2 separate regions of the Homo sapiens genome follow, and region 2 is linked to region 1. Evidence: promoter capture Hi-C in human tissues and cell types (Jung and others, 2019). All regions are on one chromosome and are shown on one strand. The core of a region is centred on a gene start or on the middle of the fragment in contact, and the rest is flanking DNA. Distances in the headings are between cores, read along the strand shown. Region 1 holds the start of GK2 (glycerol kinase 2). Region 2 has its middle 36 kb from the start of GK2.

Region 1 (4,864 bases), core at 854-3,353:
AATTTTAGCAGATTAATTACACCTCTTAATCAAGTGTGTGTAACACAAAGAACCAAATCTGGGTCCATAAGTGTTAGAGGATAGTTGATAAAAAGATTCCATGAATAGAATCTGAATAGCCTATGTTTTAGAAAGAATGGGGCAGAATGTTATGGCAATGGAGGGGGCCAGCCTTCAAGATGGCTGGCCCAACCCTGTCGATGTTAAAAAAAACACACCCAATATTTCTACAGTGCTCTTCTAACGTATTTTCTTTATTTCAGGTCACAAGTCTAGGGTTTTCATGGGTCATGTAGCAAGTGGTTTATAAACAAAATCAGAGTCTATAATAGTGTCATTATATTAAGAGGCAGAACTGCTATATGCTTTCATTATGTAAAATGTTTACATCTTGGGACTCCATAGCTGGTATTATTATGGCACACCCGAGATATATCTTGCTCCAATTAGCATTACCATGCTACTCACTATAAAAAATCCCAAAGGCAGACTAGAGAAGATAGAAGGATCACCACCTTCAGGAGACTGACTGGTAACCCAACCCATTGACTTCATTACGGCTTTCTTCCATGTGGCATAACGAATTTCACTTTCTGTGGCCTGGATCTGTGGTTCAAATCGTTCCATCCTGAGAACTGACAAAGCCTGGGGTTCAAGGCTCCAAACGCTTACTCCCTCTGCAGCCCCTGCTGCCATGGCAGCTCCTAGTGCAGTTGTTTCAGGCATAAAGGGTTTTATTACTGGAATATGAAGAATATCTGCTTGTAGCTGCATAAGAACTTTGTTGTTGGTCATTCCTCCATCTACCTGCAAATGACGAAGTGGAATTCCACAGTCACGGTTCATGGCTTCCAAAATCTCTCGGGTTTGGAAACAAACAGCTTCTAATGCAGCAAAAGCAATATGACATTTATTGGTAAACTGAGTGAGGCCACAGAGTATCCCTCTTGCACTGGGCTCCCAATAAGGTGCATATAACCCTGAAAAGGCTGGGACAAAGTAACAGCCATAAGAAGTTCCTACTTCTTTAGCAAGTCTTTCAATGTCTCCTGAGGTCTCTATAATTCCAAGATTGTCTCTTAGCCAACGAATAACAGCACCTGCTATAGCAACAGAACCTTCCAGTGCATAATATGCTGGCTTCTCTCTGCCTAGTTTGTAAGCTACTGTGGTCAAAAGGCCATGTTCAGAAAACACACATTTACGACCCGTATTACACAGTAAGAAGCAACCTGTTCCATAGGTGTTTTTGGCTTGTCCCTCCTGGAAGCACATTTGTCCTACTAATGCAGCACATTGGTCCCCCAAACACCCAGATATTGGCACACCTTCCAGGGCTCCAGTTTTAATTAGGCCATAGATCTCAGAAGAACTGAAGACATTTGGAAGAAGGTCCATTGGAATTTCAAAAAAGTCACAGAGCTCTTTATCCCATTCCAAAGAATGGATATTAAAAAGCATTGTCCTACTTGCATTTGTTACATCTGTACAATGCACGCCTCCATTAACTCCTCCTGTCAAACTCCAGATAAGCCATGAATCAATGGTACCAAAAAGAGCTCTACCTTCTTCAACAGCCTTTTGGACGTTTCTCACATTGTCAAGCATCCAACGAAGTTTTACTGCACTGAAGTAAGTGCTGAGTGGAAGGCCTGTCTTAGACTTGACGAAGTTACTATTTCCTGGAATTTTTTTACTAAGATCCTCAACAGTAGTCTGGGTTCTTAGATCAAGCCACACCACAGCATTGTAGAGAGGCTCTCCTGTTAACTTGTCCCAGATTACAGTGGTTTCCCTCTGATTGCTGACACCAACAGCTTTTATGTTGGATATATCAATATTCAGTTCGTCAAGTTTCTCACACGTTCTCGCTATACACTCGTAGACAGACTGAAGAATTTCTTTAGGGTCTTGTTCCACCCATCCTTCTTTTGGGAACTCTTGTGTTAATTCCACTTTGTGATGACTAAGTAGTTCCGCTGTTTTTGAATTGAAAACCAGAAAGCGAGTGGAGTTGGTGCCCTGGACCACCGCTCCCACCAACGGCCCCACAGCTGCTGTCTTTGGGGCTGCCATGACACCAGTAGGTCGGCTCAGCAGCTCTGGGACCGTTTCCCAGGCCACGGCGGTGTTGGGGGCAGGGAGCGCAGCCAGTCAGGAGCACAAGGCGCAGGCGCAAGGCAACCTTTGCCCTTTAACTGGCGCGGCGCCTTCTCACCCCACCCCTCCAGCCCAGGCTTCACCTCCAGCCACTCAGTTGTCTTCTAAGATTTAATTTTTTTTTTTAAATCATATATTTATCCATGTAATTACAGTTACCGGCGTTCACTCTTTTGTGTGGATCTATATCTCTACGTTATCATTTTCCTTCTTAATAGTGCAGGTCTGCTGGAGATGAATTCTTCCAAATTTGAACATCTGAAATATATTTCATAGTAATATTCAAAGGTATTTTCTCGGGGTATAGAATTCTATTTGACATATTTTTTCTTTTTAAGTTTCAGGACCTTGGAGCTGTTGCTCTACCATCGTCTCTCTTGCTGTTTCAGGTGGAACTTTGCTATTATTTTTAACATGTCTATTTTTCTCTATCTTTAGGGTTTTGCTCTTTATCAGTGGTTTTGCCCAGTTTTATCATGAAGTGTCTTGGAATAGTTTTCTTATTTTCTTTGCTTGGGGTTTACTGAGCTACTTGAATCTGTAGGTTTACAGGTTTCATCGACTTTGAAAAGCTTTGGGCCCATTATTTCTTCAAATGTGTTTTATTCTGTCTCTTCTATCCCTTAGGGACTCCATTGATGCCCTACTCATTATAATTACCTTTTCTCCTTGTCCTTGATTTCAGATAGTTTCTGTTGCTCTCTCTTCAAGTTCACTAATCTTTTCTTCTCCAATGTCTGCTCTGCTATTAATTCATCCAGTACATTTTTCACCTCACATATTGTAGTGTTCATCCCTAGAAGCTCAATTTGGGTTTTTTAATATCTACTTAACTTTCTGAACACATGGAATACAGTTAGAATAACTTTTAATTTCATTTTCTGCAATTCTAACCTCTGTGTCAGTTCTGGTTCGGTTTTGATTGATTGCTTATCTCCTCATTATGGCTTGTATTTCCTGTTTCTTTGCATGCCTGATAAGTTTTAATTAGATGCCAAACATTGTGACTTTTACCTGACTGGGTGCTTGATATTTTTGTATCCCTATAAATGGTCTTGAGTTTTGTTTTGGGATGCAGATAAATTACTTGGAAACAGTTCAATTCTTTTGCGTCTGCTTTTAAGATTTCTTAGATGGCACAAGGATAGTACTCAGTCTGGGGCTAATTCTTCCTCTTTACTGTGAAGAGATCTTTCTATGTACTCTACCCAACACCCCTGACAAATGAGGCTGTTTGGAACAGTAATTCCTCCCAGCCCTGAGTGACCACTGGATACTGTTATCTCTAGTCTTTCCAGGTGCATCTTTCGTTAGCCTCAGTAGTTTTCTCCTATACATGCACTGATCAATACCCAACTGAATACTCACTGGGGGACCCTCTAAAGCTCTCTGGAGTTCTCTCTCTATGCAACTCTTTTTTCTCCAGTGCTATGCCTGGCAGAGTCTAGCTTCTTTGGTTTCTCTAGGCTCTCAGCCTAATCTCCTTGCCATAGGTTTCCACTGAGTTTCAATTGGGTTCCCTGTCTGTGCTGTTGCTTCAAAACTCTCTCAAGAAACTAAGCTGGGGAAATCATAGTAGTCATGTCACTTGTTTTTAATCTCTTAGAAATTACTGCCTTTCATTCCGTGATATCCAGCATTTTGTGAACTGTTGTTTTATATTTTGCACATTATGTGAACTATTTCATCTATTTTTTCCATTTTTGATTGTTTTAGATGAAAAGGTAACTCCAATCCTTTTTACTACATCTTGGCCAGAGTGGAATTCCACTAAATGGAAACTTAAATTTTCAGATTAACTATAGAGTCGGTGAATAAAGACTTATTTAATCATTAATTAAAATATATTGAATATGCAGTCAATGAATGGCAATTTTTTGTATTAGGGCATAGGCTACATTTCTGAATTAGCTCAAGGATAAGGCCCATTTGTGTTTAGTAAAACCAAATAGAACAAGATAGAAAATAACATAAAAATTAACTGTGATATTGTTATTTCACTATTTTATCTGGGTCGTATTTTTTATTTAAGCAAAAACCCTTCAGGAAATACTATGAAGTCTGAGAAAGAAAGAACATTGAGACTTAATTTGCGAAGTAAGGTATAGAAATTATTAAAAACTGGATCAGATTTTCCTGGTTGTGTCTTTGTTTCTAAAATTCTATCAAAGCTTTTCCAAGCAAAATTGTAGAGGCAACATTTACCCGTATTCCAGTTAACCATAACATGTCTGCATTTTCATGGAACAAATTTATATTTACATTGTTTTAACTTTTTTCTCTCCAGGTATTTGGCAAGAGTAAACATTGTGTGTATAGATTAATGTACGCAATAAAAAGATTTGACCCAGAGCTTCTTTTCTACATTCCCTCTCTCCGTTCACACCAATATTTACAAACAAATGTTCCTAATTCCATTAGGTTTTGAGTCTGGGAATACTTTAAGTATTTTGTCTTTAATACAAATACCTTATTTATAAAATCGTCAGTTCTGCTTATAAAGAACTGGCTTACATAGTAGTTTCACTGATAATAAATTGTAGCCACTAAATAATCAGATAATAAGTGTCCCAATATAGTTTAGAAAGTTTACCAAATTGCAATAACTTCCTTAGAGTAATTGCAAACTACTGATGGGTTTAACCAAAGCTGATAAACAGTATTTAAAACAAGCAAACGAAAACTAAGGAGCTTAAATGAAGTC
Region 2 (4,864 bases), core at 1,210-3,709, 36 kb before region 1:
AGAAAAAAAAACAGTTAAAAATATTGTCCCTTAAATTCTAAGGTTGGGAGAAGTGGAGGATGGCAGTAAATAAATTGTAAAATAAGTTAACTGATTATACACACTATGGAAAAAAATGAAAGAAGAAAGAGAAATAGGGGGTACTAGATATTGGTTGGGAGGGATTGCTTCAATTTTAAATAAGGTGGTCAAGAGAGGCTTTAGGGAGAAAGTGACATTTGAGCAATGACTTGAGAGGATAAGAAAGTGGGCCCTATAGCCATCTGGGGAAAGAATCTTCCAGGCAGATGGAAAATCAAACATGAAATCTCTATGGCAGGAGTATAACATGTTCAAAGGGCAGCAAGGAGGCCATTGTGGCCTTCGAGAGGACTTGAGCTTTTACTCTGAATGAGATGAAAAGGCCTTGGAGAGTTTAAAGAAAGAAATATCATGATTTGTCTCACCATTTGTGGTAGAATGAAGAACACAACCACAATATTTTGTAGCTCTTCCTAGCAAGAGATGGAATCATATCATTCAGAGTCCATTCTGGAGGTGGAAACCTAGTTACTTGAGATAATTGAATATAAATAAATGTTTATAACTAAGTATAAAAGTGTTAAGTAGGTCATTCAATAAAAAAGAGAACACTAAATTATCAGTGAGGTAGGAAGCAGCTACGTCCCTTAGGGGTGGTCAAAAGAGATTAGAATATTTCAATTTAGCAAGTTAGAGGAAGTGTACCATGAAGCAAAACAAATCAAACCTCTGAGGAAGGAATGTTGGCCAGCTTTTGTCAGAGTCGCTGAGGGATCCTGACCAGATCAGTACCATGTGTTGAGAAAATGATCAACTAGATTAGGTTCCTGCCATGAGAAGGACCTGCTACTGGGTGTGAAGAAGTGATGATGCAGTGATGCACTCACATGAACCACAAGAATATAGGGACCAAATTGGGAGAAGCAAGTCCACTTTCCTTTCTCCAATTTTGCAGTCTCTCTCTGTTATCTCTGACTCCACTGGCAAAGTCAAACATCATCTGCTCAGTCCCACCTCCATCATTACAACAAAGCAGAGTATAGAAGGATGAATTTGGATCTCAGTGAAAATTGCATAATCATCAATGCAAGGCTTCAATCTGGCAAAAGTGATGTTATTTAATTTTCAAGGCTAAGTCTCAAGAGGCATCTTTTCCTTTTGCTCACTTTGGATGCTACCTTGAGATCACCATGTACTGAAGGTAGTCTGGCTATTTGGAGGATGAGAAGCCACATGAAGGGGAATGATGGCATCCCAGAAGCCATCTTGGACCTACCATATTTTCTTGGGAGCTGGAAGCATATGTCCAGCTGTACCGTAGAATTGCTTCAAGTTAGGTGTTCTGTGTGCTTTCTGTTATTCCCTTTGAAGGGGACTGTCTAATGGAGTTCTCTAGTTTCTCTCTAATCATTGTATGATGGATATCTTAATAATTAGTCTCTAGAAAACAGCTCTCTGGACCCACATAAATGCAGCCAAGAAGTTGTGCCTATATCTGAACTAGATGTAGATTGTGAGATAGTGGGGTTTCTGTCTGATTCTGTAATGAGAGGAGAGTTGGAGGGGAAGGATGAGCAATGTTTTGCATGGGTGAGGAATGGAAGTCATCATAATTGGAGGGTGGACTGAGGTAGACTGAAAAACATGGCTGCATTATTTTACAGCTCTTTTCATTAAAATTTTATTACAATGTGTAGAGAACTTAGTTTTCCCAGCCAAGAGCCAAACCAATTACCAGACCTGTGAGGCCACCTTGGATCTTCTAGCCCAGCTTAGCTTCCGGCTGAATGCAAGAGTAAGTCTAGATAAAACTAGCAAAAGAATAGCCCAACTGTATTAGTTCATTTTCATGCTGCTGATAAAGACATACCCGAAACTGGGAACAAAAAGAGGTTTAATTGGACTTACAGTTCCACATGGCTGGGAGGGGCCTCAGAATCATGGTGGGAGGCAAAAGGCACTTGTTCCTTGGTGGCAACAAGGAAAAAATGAGGAGGAAGCAAAAGCGGAAACCCCTGATAAACCCATCAGATCTCATGAGACTTATTCACTATCATGAGAGTAGCATGAGAAAGACTGGCCCCCACGGCTCAATTACATCCCCCCGAGTCCCTCCCACAACACATGAGAATTCTGGGACATACAATTCAAGCTGAGATATGGGTGGGGACATAGCCAAACCATATCACCAGCTAATTCACAAAATCATGAGAAATAATAAATCATTGTTGTTTAAAGTCTCTAAGTTTCGAGGTGGTTTGTCTCACAATGCTAGCCAATCTATATTACTTTAACAGGATCATTCTAGCTATTTGGTTCAAGGAAGTCTATTAGAAGTAAGGGTGAGGAAAATATAAGGAACTAGAGAAGAAGGAAAACGTTATTCTATTCCTCAAGCTCAAATTAGAAATTAAATTTTGAAAAACATAGAATATTTAAGGCAACAAAATGAATCTGTGATGGTAGACATTAAGGCAACAAGAAATAAACAAGGAAAGGTGGTTTTTAAGGCAAGGATCCTTACTAATGTCTCTAAAATCATACAATGCATGAACTATATGTAAAAAACTGAATATAGTTTCTGAATACATATAATAATAATAACTAGAATTTAAATATACTAACTCATCTTTTCCTCACAATAAATCTATAAAAATTATACTATTATCTCTAACTTATAGGTGAAGAATTAGAAGTATAGGAGATTAAGCACCTTACCTCAGTTTGCAAAGCTAGTGAGAATTGGAGCTAGAATTCAAAGTCATACAGATTGAAAGTTCTAGAATCTGTTCTCTGAACTACTAGCTACACCTCAAAGCGAAAGAATTTGGAGTGTTTCAGTTAAGTAGTTGACATTTACTGAATTTAAACTGCATTCAATTCCTAATGTGTATAATATATTTTATCTGAATTCATGATGTATAGTTATAGGTTTGTTTTTGTCCTTAAAATTATTCCATTTTTTTAATGTAAATCTAAGACTCAGTCTAGCTATGATGGTAAGTAGAAAAGAGTGAGGGCAATTTTCCTAGAGCAGAGGATACGTGAGTTAGGTATTAAAGAAATAACAAGAATAAAACATCTTCCAAATTTCTGTGCACGTCAAAATCTTATCTAGTTTTCAAATTACAATATACAGGCTATGTTTTTTTATAAAAGCATTTCTGACTTTTTCCAGCCTGAAGTCATTGCTTTTCCACCAAATTTTTTAAATAACAAATATATCTCTCAGGACATATTTTCTATCTTGTCTGACATTTATTTATAGATATGTTGTATCTTCTTTAAGATGGAATCCAGGCAAGGTTTATTTTTGTATTTCTTTTCCTTCCAATGTGATGAGTAGATAGGTGAGTGGAAGAATGAATGGATGATTAAAAGGATAGATGGATTGATGAATGAATGTCTCATGCCTTTGAAGTAACTCACACTTTTAATCCACATTTTCAATATTGCCAAGGGAATATTTTTTGTAAAAAAAATTGTTTTACTCCAGCCAGGCACGGCAGCTCACGTCTGTAATTCTAGCACTTTGGGAGACTGAGGCTGGTTGATCACTTGAGGTCAGGAGTTCCAGTCCAGTCTGCCCAACATGGTGAAATCCCATCTGTACTAAAAATACAAAAATTAGCCAGACATGGTGTTGGGCTCCTGTAGTCCCAGCTACTCAGGAGGCTGAGGCAGGATAATCATTTGAACCCAGGAGGCAGAGGTTGCCGTGAGCCGAGATCACACTACTGCACTTCAGCCTGGGTGACAGGGCAAGACTGTATCTCCAGAAAAAAAAGAAAAGAAAAGAAGAAAGCTTTACTGATATGCTAAGACAAATTAATGATAAGTTGTTGAATTGTTTCATAGAATTATCCGGGTAAGAAGGATATGCCATGTTGTTTGGCCTGATTGCCTGTCTTTCCACAAAACTACCCAATAGTCATTTTTTAATAATCATTTTGAAATTGTCATTACTCATCCCCCTAGTCTGTTTCTTTTATTAATTCATTTTTGTGCATCTGTTTGAATATCCATATGTAAGGAACTATTTCACTGATGTGCCAGGCCTTTCTTATTTCCAATCAAAGTATTTCTCATCATAATATAAGCTTATTTTTTCTTAATTTTTGAATGCAGAGACTACCTCTGATACTTAAAAAAAGTAAATCAGTTACCCAGGACTGTCACATAATTTGCAAGGATAAGTGGAAAATAAAGATGTGGGCCCCGTGTTGAAGAAATATTGTTAATTTCAAGATGGCGACAGCAGGTCATTAAAGCAATCACGGGGCCCTGTGTGACTGCATGGGTTTCACACTCATGAAGTGGGCCCTGGAGTTACCTTTAGACTTTTCGTCTGTAACCTTGATAATTAGCTATTTTGCCATGGAAGCAGAATTAAATACCTCTTTACTTCACTTTCCAGTGGTGAAACAAAACAAAACAAAACAAAACAAAACAAAACGAAATGAAACAAAACACCTTTGATGATAACCATGAAATGCCACCGAACATGTACTTTAGGGGTGGTTAGGCTGTGTATTTACATGTTCTGCCTATTGAGATATTAGAACATTATTGAAGTATAATGTAATACAGATGAGTGCACATTATAGGTGTACAGCTCTACAAATTTTCACCAGTTAAATACTCACAAATAGCCAGAAACAAATAAGGAAACCAAATTATTTGCATCCAGGATATCCCCTTGTGTCCCCTTTGGTTACTTACATTCTGCCACCCAAATTTAAGTAACATCATGACTTCAACAGCCTAGTTTAATTTTGTATGTTTTTATATAAATGTAATAACATAATACGTACTTTTTTATGTCTGTTTTTTTGCGCCCAAA

The links. Contacts are between HindIII fragments. The study calls those that stand out against the background at their distance.
Region 2: a contact is called between a fragment that was not itself captured here and the fragment with the promoter of GK2 in region 1, in 1 of the 25 tissues and cell types used here (bladder).

The regions. Positions count from the first base shown.
Region 1 is chr4:79,406,125-79,410,988 of GRCh38, forward strand. GK2 (glycerol kinase 2) reads right to left here and starts at 2,104. Exons shown (of 1, transcript NM_033214.3): 1 at 237-2,104. The coding sequence starts at 2,076. The coding sequence ends at 415. The HindIII fragment of the contact is 12,605 bases long and covers 1-3,531 here.
Region 2 is chr4:79,369,559-79,374,422 of GRCh38, forward strand. No RefSeq gene overlaps it. Among named protein-coding and RNA genes, the nearest start is that of GK2, 36 kb to the right of the region's middle. The HindIII fragment of the contact is 3,027 bases long and covers 947-3,973 here.